Linked DNA regions of Homo sapiens: region 2 is linked to region 1. The links are contacts of gene promoters, found by promoter capture Hi-C in blood cells and fetal thymus (Javierre and others, 2016). All regions are on one chromosome and are shown on one strand. The core of a region is centred on a gene start or on the middle of the fragment in contact, and the rest is flanking DNA. Distances in the headings are between cores, read along the strand shown.

Region 1 (4,269 bases), core at 1,067-3,566:
AGAAAAAAACAAACAACCCCATCAAAAAGTGGGCAAAGGATATGAACAGACACTTCTCAAAAGAAGACATTTATGCAGCCAACAGACACATGAATAAATGCTCTTCATCACTGGCCATCAGAGAAATGCAAATCAAAACCACAATGAGATACCATCTCACACCTGTTAGAATGGCGATCATTAAAAAGTAAGGAAACAACAGGTGCTGGAGAGGATGTAGAGAAATAGGAACACTTTTACACTGTTGGTGGGACTGTAAACTAGTTGAACCATTGTGGAAGTCAGCGTGGCGATTCCTCAGGGTTCTAGAATTAGAAATACCATTTGACCGAGCCATCCCATTACTGGGTATATACCCAAAGGATTATAAGTCATGCTGCTATAAAGACACATGCACACATACGTTTATTGCGGCACTATTCAAAATAGCAAAGACTTGGAACCAACCCAAATGTCCAACAATGATAGACTGGATTAAGAAAATGTGGCACATATACACCATGGAATACTATGCAGCCATAAAAAATGATGAGTCCGTGTCCTTTGTAGGGACATGGATGAAGCTGGAAACCATCATTCTCAGCAAACTATCGCAAGGACAAAAAACCAAACACCGCATGTTCTCACTCATAGGTGGGAATTGAACAATGAGAACACATGGACACAGGAAGGGGAACATCACACAATGGGGCCTCTTGTGAGGTGGGGGTAGGGGAGAGGGATAGCATTAGGAGATATACCTAATGTAAATGAGGAGTTAATGGGTGCAGCACACCAACATGGCACACGTATACACATGTAACTAACCTGCACATTGTGCACATGTACCCTAGAACTTAAAATATAATTTAAAAAAATAAAAATGAAAATAAAATAAAAAGCCCTCACTGAAACTATGACATATCTGCAAATTGCTTTCCATAAAAATTGTATAAACTTTCACTTGCATCAGCACTAGATATGAAGCTTTTTCATGATCAATGACATTAAGTAATATTTTAATGTTCTTTCATACTTTGACTGTTGAATCGAGATTATTATTACTTCTATTTTTCCTTGTAGATGTTATTTTATTAAGTGTAGTTGTTCTGTTAACATCCGACTCATCCCCTCATTCAAATACCATAAGTATCTGAATAAGAAAGATACCATTAAGCATTGTTTTGTTTACAGAGTTTTTGGTTGGTTCATTTGCTTTCTGTTCAATTTTATTTTGCTGCTTTTTACCTTTTAATAAATCAAATATTGATACTGGTACAACATTAGTATACAACCTTTCTCAAAATATTTAAATAATTATTTCAACATTCCTTAAAGAATACCCAACGTTTCTCCACTGATTTATAAAACTATAACTTTAATTATTTCTTATAAAGTTATTTTTTTGCAAAGCTTTCTATTCCGATACATAGATCTGATTACTGGTTATTGTGGAAATATTATGTCAAATGCCCAGTACTGGGAGAAAAGCCAAATTATAAATCACTTTAAAATTGAGTTTTACGGACCAAGTGCAAGATATGTAACAGGTGCTCAATAAATATTTGTTGAATGAAAAAATCGATTAGAAAACATCTAATTTCCTGGAAAAATTAATAGACATGAATTGCAGATAAAAAACAAATCCCAGTTTTGCAAAAGTTTAGGAAAAAGGAAAAAAAACTATGAGCATTAATATTTTGCTGTGAGGCCCTCAAAAATGGGAGATGGGACTGCAGTTGATGATTTTCCTCTTAATATTAATTTCCTAAAATGTAGATAGTGTTCACGTTGTACATGCAATTATCTTGCAATAAAGAAAAGGAAAAAAAAATCCCTCGAAAACAAAAACAAAAATGCCAGGAAATATCAGTCAGCAAAAATTAGGTAGAGACTGGGTCAAAATGGCAGACTTACCATAGTGAATTTCTCTGTTCCAACTCCAAATCCTTTCAAAAAGAGGAAAGACATATTTACGTGTAAAGAATAAATCCATAAGGGCATGGGACGGTGCAGGGGCAGGGGTGGGCGCGGGGGTGGGCGCGGGGCGGCAGCAAGGCGAATTCCAAGAAGATGGAAAGCAGGGCAGGCAGACTAAGAAGGTGGAGGTGGGAACCAAGTGGCCCTGAAACGGGTGAGGAAGGGGCCACAGGGTTCCGAGGACGACTGTGGCACGAACTACTCCGGATTTGGAAAGAGGCGGAGTCAGAGCCCATAGCTCCGCCGGGGCTACAGGCTGTGTGGTGGGCGTGGGAGCCTGGTGGAGAGGAGAGCCGGGTGTTTGACAGGAAGAGGAGGCCTCTCTCTGGGCAGGAAGCTGCGCTACGGAAAGAGGGAGGAGACTGCCGCGGCGACAGCAGGGACTGGTGGAATCCCGATGTGGCTGAGGGGCCGCCACCGCCAGCAGGGAGGCGGAGGGCTAGCGAGCCAAGCGGTGGGGACGCCGCTGCCTTCCTCTTTGCCTGTCTCGCCGCCCTCCTAGACACGCTCCTCATCTACGGATCCTACCCTCCCCGCTCTTGCAAGCATTCACTCGGCCGGTCGCCTGCTGACCCTCCTTCGCCACAGGCTCGTAGCGGAGGCAGCAGCGAGGTGTCCGATTTGGGCACGTGAGGCCCGCGATCCCCGGCGGTGGACGCCAGGCAGGGCAAGGCCATTAGTGGGCGCCAGAATGGAGAGGGGGATGGGAAGGAATCCAGCAGGAGACATGGGGTGGAGTTGGGCGCCAGGCAAGGGTGGGGTGGGGGAGTGCGGTGAGCAACATGAAAAGGGGGTAGGAACGGGAGCCAGACAAGGATTTGAAGGTGAGCGCCGGGAAGCAAGGGCGGTGGGTACCAGAGAAGTGGTTAGGGTAGGCAGGGGGTGTTGTGGACAGCAGCTGGGACGCTCAGGGAAGGAGGGCAGTGGGTGCCGGTCAAGGCCTCTTTGCAAGGGGATTGGAAGTGGACGCCAGTGGTAGCAAGGGGTTCCGGGAGGGCAGTGGGCTCTGAGCTAGGAGGAGGTGGCCCAGCCACTTCTGCAGAGTTCCTAACCCCAGACAGCTCTACTGCACCACCCCAGCCCTTCCCCACAGCCCAAAGGAACTTAAGAGGGAGAGCACTGCGGGCATGCAGCCAGGATTTCCAGCATTGCTTCCAGGCTCCTAGGGGAAACTTAGGCACTAGCGCAGACTACATCCAGACATGGCTATAGGGAAAAGTTTGCCTTGTGGCACACTGGGTGTGTCTCTCTATCCTCTCTCCTCCCCCAGCAGGCATGAAGACCCCCAACGCACAGGAAGCCGAAGGGCAACAAACCAGGGCAGCTGCAGGACGGGCCACTGGGTCTGCAAACATGACAAAGAAAAAAGTCTCCCAAAAGAAGCAGAGAGGCCGACCTTCATCCCAGCCCCGCAGGAACATCGTGGGCTGCAGAATTTCTCATGGATGGAAGGAAGGAGATGAGCCCATCACGCAGTGGAAAGGAACCGTTCTGGATCAGGTGCCTATAAATCCCTCTCTTTATCTGGTGAAATATGATGGAATTGACTGTGTCTATGGACTGGAACTTCACAGAGATGAAAGGGTTTTGTCTCTTAAAATTCTTTCTGACAGGGTGGCATCATCTCACATTAGTGATGCCAACCTTGCAAATACCATAATTGGCAAAGCAGTGGAACATATGTTTGAGGGAGAGCATGGTTCTAAGGATGAATGGAGGGGGATGGTCTTAGCTCAAGCACCTATCATGAAAGCCTGGTTTTATATTACCTATGAGAAAGATCCTGTCTTGTACATGTACCAGCTTCTAGATGATTATAAGGAAGGTGACCTCCGCATCATGCCAGAATCCAGTGAGTCTCCTCCAACAGAGAGGGAGCCAGGAGGAGTTGTAGATGGCCTAATAGGTAAGCATGTGGAATATACCAAAGAAGATGGCTCCAAAAGGATCGGCATGGTCATTCACCAAGTGGAAGCCAAACCCTCTGTGTATTTCATCAAGTTTGATGATGATTTCCATATCTATGTCTACGATTTGGTGAAAAAGTCCTAACTGTTAGGGTAAAATTTGGCACATGTGTGGAAACAAATGTATAATTTGTAGACATGCAAAAAATGTTGCCTTTCAGTGTATTGAAAGCTTATGGAATCCCTGATAACTAAACATCTTTGCCAGCATTAACTGTTGTTTTGCTCTAAAAAATACAAACTTGTGTGTACATGACATGCTGTGTGTAAGCCCTTTGTCTTGTTGAAAAGATCGGGTGTGTTTGGTGAATGGGGCATGAAAAGAAGGAACAGCTATCAGAGA
Region 2 (4,269 bases), core at 684-3,183, 770 kb before region 1:
GTCTCACAGAATCCCATTGCAGGGTAGTGGCTATTGTCTTAGATATATGAGTAGAAAAGCTGATTCTTCTTAACCTTCTTTGGCCCGATGGCAGTTGCAGCCACATCAGCCTGAACTCAGCATGAGGACAGGGCACCTCTCAGGCTAGCAGCATGGCCAAGAAGCTGTGGGAAGTGCAGTCTTCTCATGTCTCAGTCTCAACAGCAGCCCACAGCAGAGCAGTAGGGACCCTCCCAGGGGTGCTTGGGAGCACTTGCTCTTCCCTTTTCCCCCTTGGAGCAACACAGCAGCAGTAACTGTGTCTATAGATCCCCAGTATTAGGGCTCTCAAAATGGCACCCAGCTGAGTCTATTTAGGTTTAGATACCTGTGGGATTCCATATTGGTTCCCTTTCTGGAGTAATGTCTTTGTCCAGTTTTCAGGCAGCTCTGTATGTCAGGCCTGAGGCCCTAGTAGGTCAGAGGTTTCTCCTATAACCAACATTGTAAAAGCCCATTACAAAGTGTGGAACCCTGAGTGTTTCTCTCTTACTGTTTTCCATGTCCAGGAGCCTCTCCCATCTCTCAGCTAGTTCCCAGCCAGGCAAGCTGCTTCGAACCCTCTCCTTCTGGTGCTTTCTTTCACTTCTTCAGTGAATCCTAGCATTCCCTGCTAAACGATCTGTTCAAAATGTGCGTATCCACTTAACTATTCTAATTCCTCTCTGTGGAGGAAGCACAGACTACCAGCATCTCATCAGATATTTTGATCCCTAACATTTTAAAGATTTTTCTATATATAAGATTGTGTTCTGTGTAAAGATGGATTTGAATTCCTCTTGTTCAATTTAGATGTCTTCTATTTCCTTGTCTTGCCTTATTGTTCTAGATAAGACTTCCAGTACCATAGTGAGTTAGAGTGGTGAACGTGGGCTTCTAGGTCTTGTCCCAGTTCTTAGGGAAAGGGTTCATCTTTTCCCCATGCAGTATGATGTTAGCTCTGTGCAGGTTGTAGAAAACCTTAATTATGTTGAGTTACCTTCTTTCTCTGTTTAATTTCTGAGTCTTCATCATGAAGAGATGTTGAATTTTATCAAATGTTTTTGCTGCATCTATTGAGATGATTATATGGTTTTAGTATTTCATTGTATTCATGTTATATATCACATTTACTGATTTGCATATGTGAAACCATCCTTGTATTACTGGAGTAACTACCAACAGATCAGGATGTTTCTTTTTATGTGCTGTTAGATTCAGTTTGATAGTATTTTGTTGAGGATTTTTGCATCTATATTTATCAGGAATATTGACCTATACTTTTTTTTAGTTATGTCTTTGTGGTGATTTGGGTATCAGGATAATACTGGCTTCATAGAATGAGTTAGAGTTACCTTCTCTTAATTTTTTTTGGAATAGTTTGAGAAGAATTGGTGTTAATTCTTTATATCAGGCAGACAGCATGGGCAAGAAGAGAACTCAGCAGTAAAGATATCTGACCCTAGGCTTTTCTCTGTCAAGGGACATTTCATTGTTGATTCAATTAGTGTCCTCAGGTTTTCTATTTCTTTGTGACCCAGTATTGGTAGGTTGTATGTGTCTAGGAATTTATTGATTTTCTGTAGGTTTTCTAATTTTTTAGTGTATAGTTGATATGGTTTGGCTGTGTCCTCACCCAAAATTTCATCTTGAATTGTAATAATCCCCATATGTCAAGGGTGGGACCAGGTGGAGATAATTGAATCATGGGGGTGTTTTCCCCCATCCTTTTCTTGTGATAGTGAGTTAGTTCTCACAAGATCTGATGGTTTTATAAGGGGCTTCCCCCTTTGCTGGGTACTCATTCTTCCCCTTCCTACCGCATGAGAAGAAGGATGCGTTTGCTTCCCCTTCGGCCATGATTGTAAGTTTTCTGAGGCCTCCCCAGCCCTGTGAAACTGTGAGTCAATTAAACCTCTTTCCTTTATAAATTACCCAGTCTCAGGCAGTTTTTTTATAGCAGTGTGAGGATGGACTAATACAATAAATTGGTACCAGTAGATTGGGGTGTCACTACAAGGCTACCCAAAAATGTGCAAGCTACTTTGGACCTGTGTAATAGGCAGAAGTTGGAACAGTTTTTAGGACTCAGAAGAAGACAGGAAAATGTGAGAAAGTGTGGAACTTCCTAGAGACTTGGCAGGCTCAGAAGACAGAAAGATGTGGGAAAGTTTGGAATTTCCTAGGGATTTGTTGAATGGCTTTGACCAAAATGCTGAGAGTGATATAGACAATGAAGTCCAGGCTGAGGTGGTCTCAGATGGAGATGAGAAACTTTTTGGGAACTGGAATAAATGTGACTCTTGCTATGTTTTAGCAAAGAGACTAGAAGCATTTTGCCCCTGCCCTAGAGATCTTGAACTTGAGAGAGATGATTTAGGGTATCTGGCAGAAGAAATTTCTAAACAGCAAAGCATTCAAGATGTGACTTGGGTGCTGTTAAAAGCATTCAGTTTTATGTATTCACAAAGATATGGTTTGGAATTGGAGCTTATGTTAAAAGGGAAGCAGATCATAAAAGTTCAGAAAATTTGCAGCCTGATGATGTGATAGAAAAGAGAAACCCATTTTCTGGGGAGTAATTCAAGCTGGCTGCAGAAATTTGCATAAGTAATGAAGAGCCAAGGGTAAATCTCCAAAACAATGGGGAAATGGTCTCCAGGGCATATCAGAGGTCTTCATGGCAGTACCTCCCATCACAGGCCCAGAGGCCTGGCCTCCTAGTCTTACTGCTTTGTGCAGTCTCAAGACTTGGTGCCCTGTGTCCCAGCCATGGCTAAAAGGGGCCAAGGTACAGCTCGGGCCATGGCTTCAGAGTGTACAAGCCCCAAGCCTTGACAGCTTTCACATGATGTTGAGCCTGTGGGTAGACAGAAGTCAATAATTGAGGTTTTAGAACCTCCCCCTAGATGTCAGAGGATGTATGGGAATGCCTCAATGTCCAGGCAGAAGTGTGATACAGGGGCAGAGCCCTCATGAAAAACCTCTGCTAAGGTAGTGTGGAAGGGAAATGTGGGGTTGAAGCCCCCACACAGAATCTCCACTGGAGCACTGCCTAATGGAGCTATGAGAAGAGGGCCACCATCCTCCAGACTCCAGAATTGTGGAGCCACTGACAGCTTGCACAGTGCACCTGGAAAAGCCACAGACACTCAAAACCAGCCAGTGAATGCAGCCAGGAGTGGGGCTGTGCCCTGCAAAGCAACAGGGATGGAGCTGCCCAAGACCATGGGAGCCCACCTCTTGCATCAGCATGACCTGGATGTGAGACATGGAATCAAAGGAGATTATTTTGGAACTTTAAGGTTTAATGATTACATGGGGGCTCTAACCCCTTTGTTTTGGCCAGTTTCTCCCATTTGGAACAGATGTATTTGTCCAATGCCTGTACCCATTTTATCTAGGAAGTAACCACTTGCTTTTGATTTTACAGGCTCATAGGTGGAATGGACTTGCCTTGTCTCAGATGAGACTTTGGACTTGGACTTTTGAGTTAATACTGGAATGAGTTAATATTTTAGGGGACTGTTGGAAGGGTGTGATTGTGTTTTGAATTGTGAGGACATGAGATTTGGGAGGGCCTAGTGGTAGAATATTATGGTTTGGCTGTGTCCCCACCCAGAATTTCATCTTGAATTGCAATAATCCCCATGTGTCAAGGGATGACCACGTGGAGATAATTGAATCATGGGGGTGGTTCTCCCCATCCTGTTCTTGTGATAGTTAGTTCTCACGAGATCTGATGGTTTTATAAGAGGCCCTTTGGTGGGCACTCATTCTTCCCCATTCTACTGCCATAAGAAGAAGGACATATTTGCTTCTCCTTCTGCCATGATTGTTAATTTCCTGAGGCCTCTGCAGCTCTGCAGAACGGTGAGTCAATTAAACATCTTTTCATTGTAAATTACTCATTCTCAGGCAATTGTTTATAGCGGCATGAAGATGGACTAGTACAATAGTTTGAATTGTCTCTAATGACCTATTATATTTCCATACTATTAGTTGTCATGTCTTTGTTTTATTTTTCATTTCTAATTTTATTTGAGTTTTCTTTTATTATTGGTTATTAGAGTTGGGAGTTCATAATTTTTTTATTTTTTTTGTAGAACCAACTTTTTAATTCTTCTATCCTTTGCATTGTTTATTTAGTCCTTATTTTGTTTACTTCTGTTCTGATATTTCTACCTTCTACTAATTTTAGGTTTGGATTATTATTTTATTTTCATTCCTTGAGCTTCATTATTAGGTTGA

The links. The method cuts DNA at HindIII sites, captures the fragments that hold promoters and counts their contacts. A CHiCAGO score of 5 or more calls a contact.
Region 2: a fragment that was not itself captured here is called in contact with the fragment with the promoter of SPIN2B in region 1 in 1 of 17 cell types (total CD8 T cells); the score reaches 5.2 in total CD8 T cells.

What each region holds. Positions count from the first base shown.
Region 1 is chrX:57,119,595-57,123,863 of GRCh38, reverse strand. It overlaps SPIN2B (spindlin family member 2B), which reads left to right and starts at 2,316. Exons shown (of 2, transcript NM_001006681.2): 1 at 2,316-2,626; 2 at 3,233-4,182. The coding sequence starts at 3,235. The coding sequence ends at 4,011. It also overlaps a transcript of FAAH2 not described here. RefSeq lists a silencer at 2,029-2,148. The HindIII fragment of the contact is 2,706 bases long and covers 1,395-4,100 here.
Region 2 is chrX:57,888,050-57,892,318 of GRCh38, reverse strand. No RefSeq gene overlaps it. Among named protein-coding and RNA genes, the nearest start is that of ZXDA, 20 kb to the left of the region's middle. The HindIII fragment of the contact is 7,004 bases long and covers 1-4,269 here.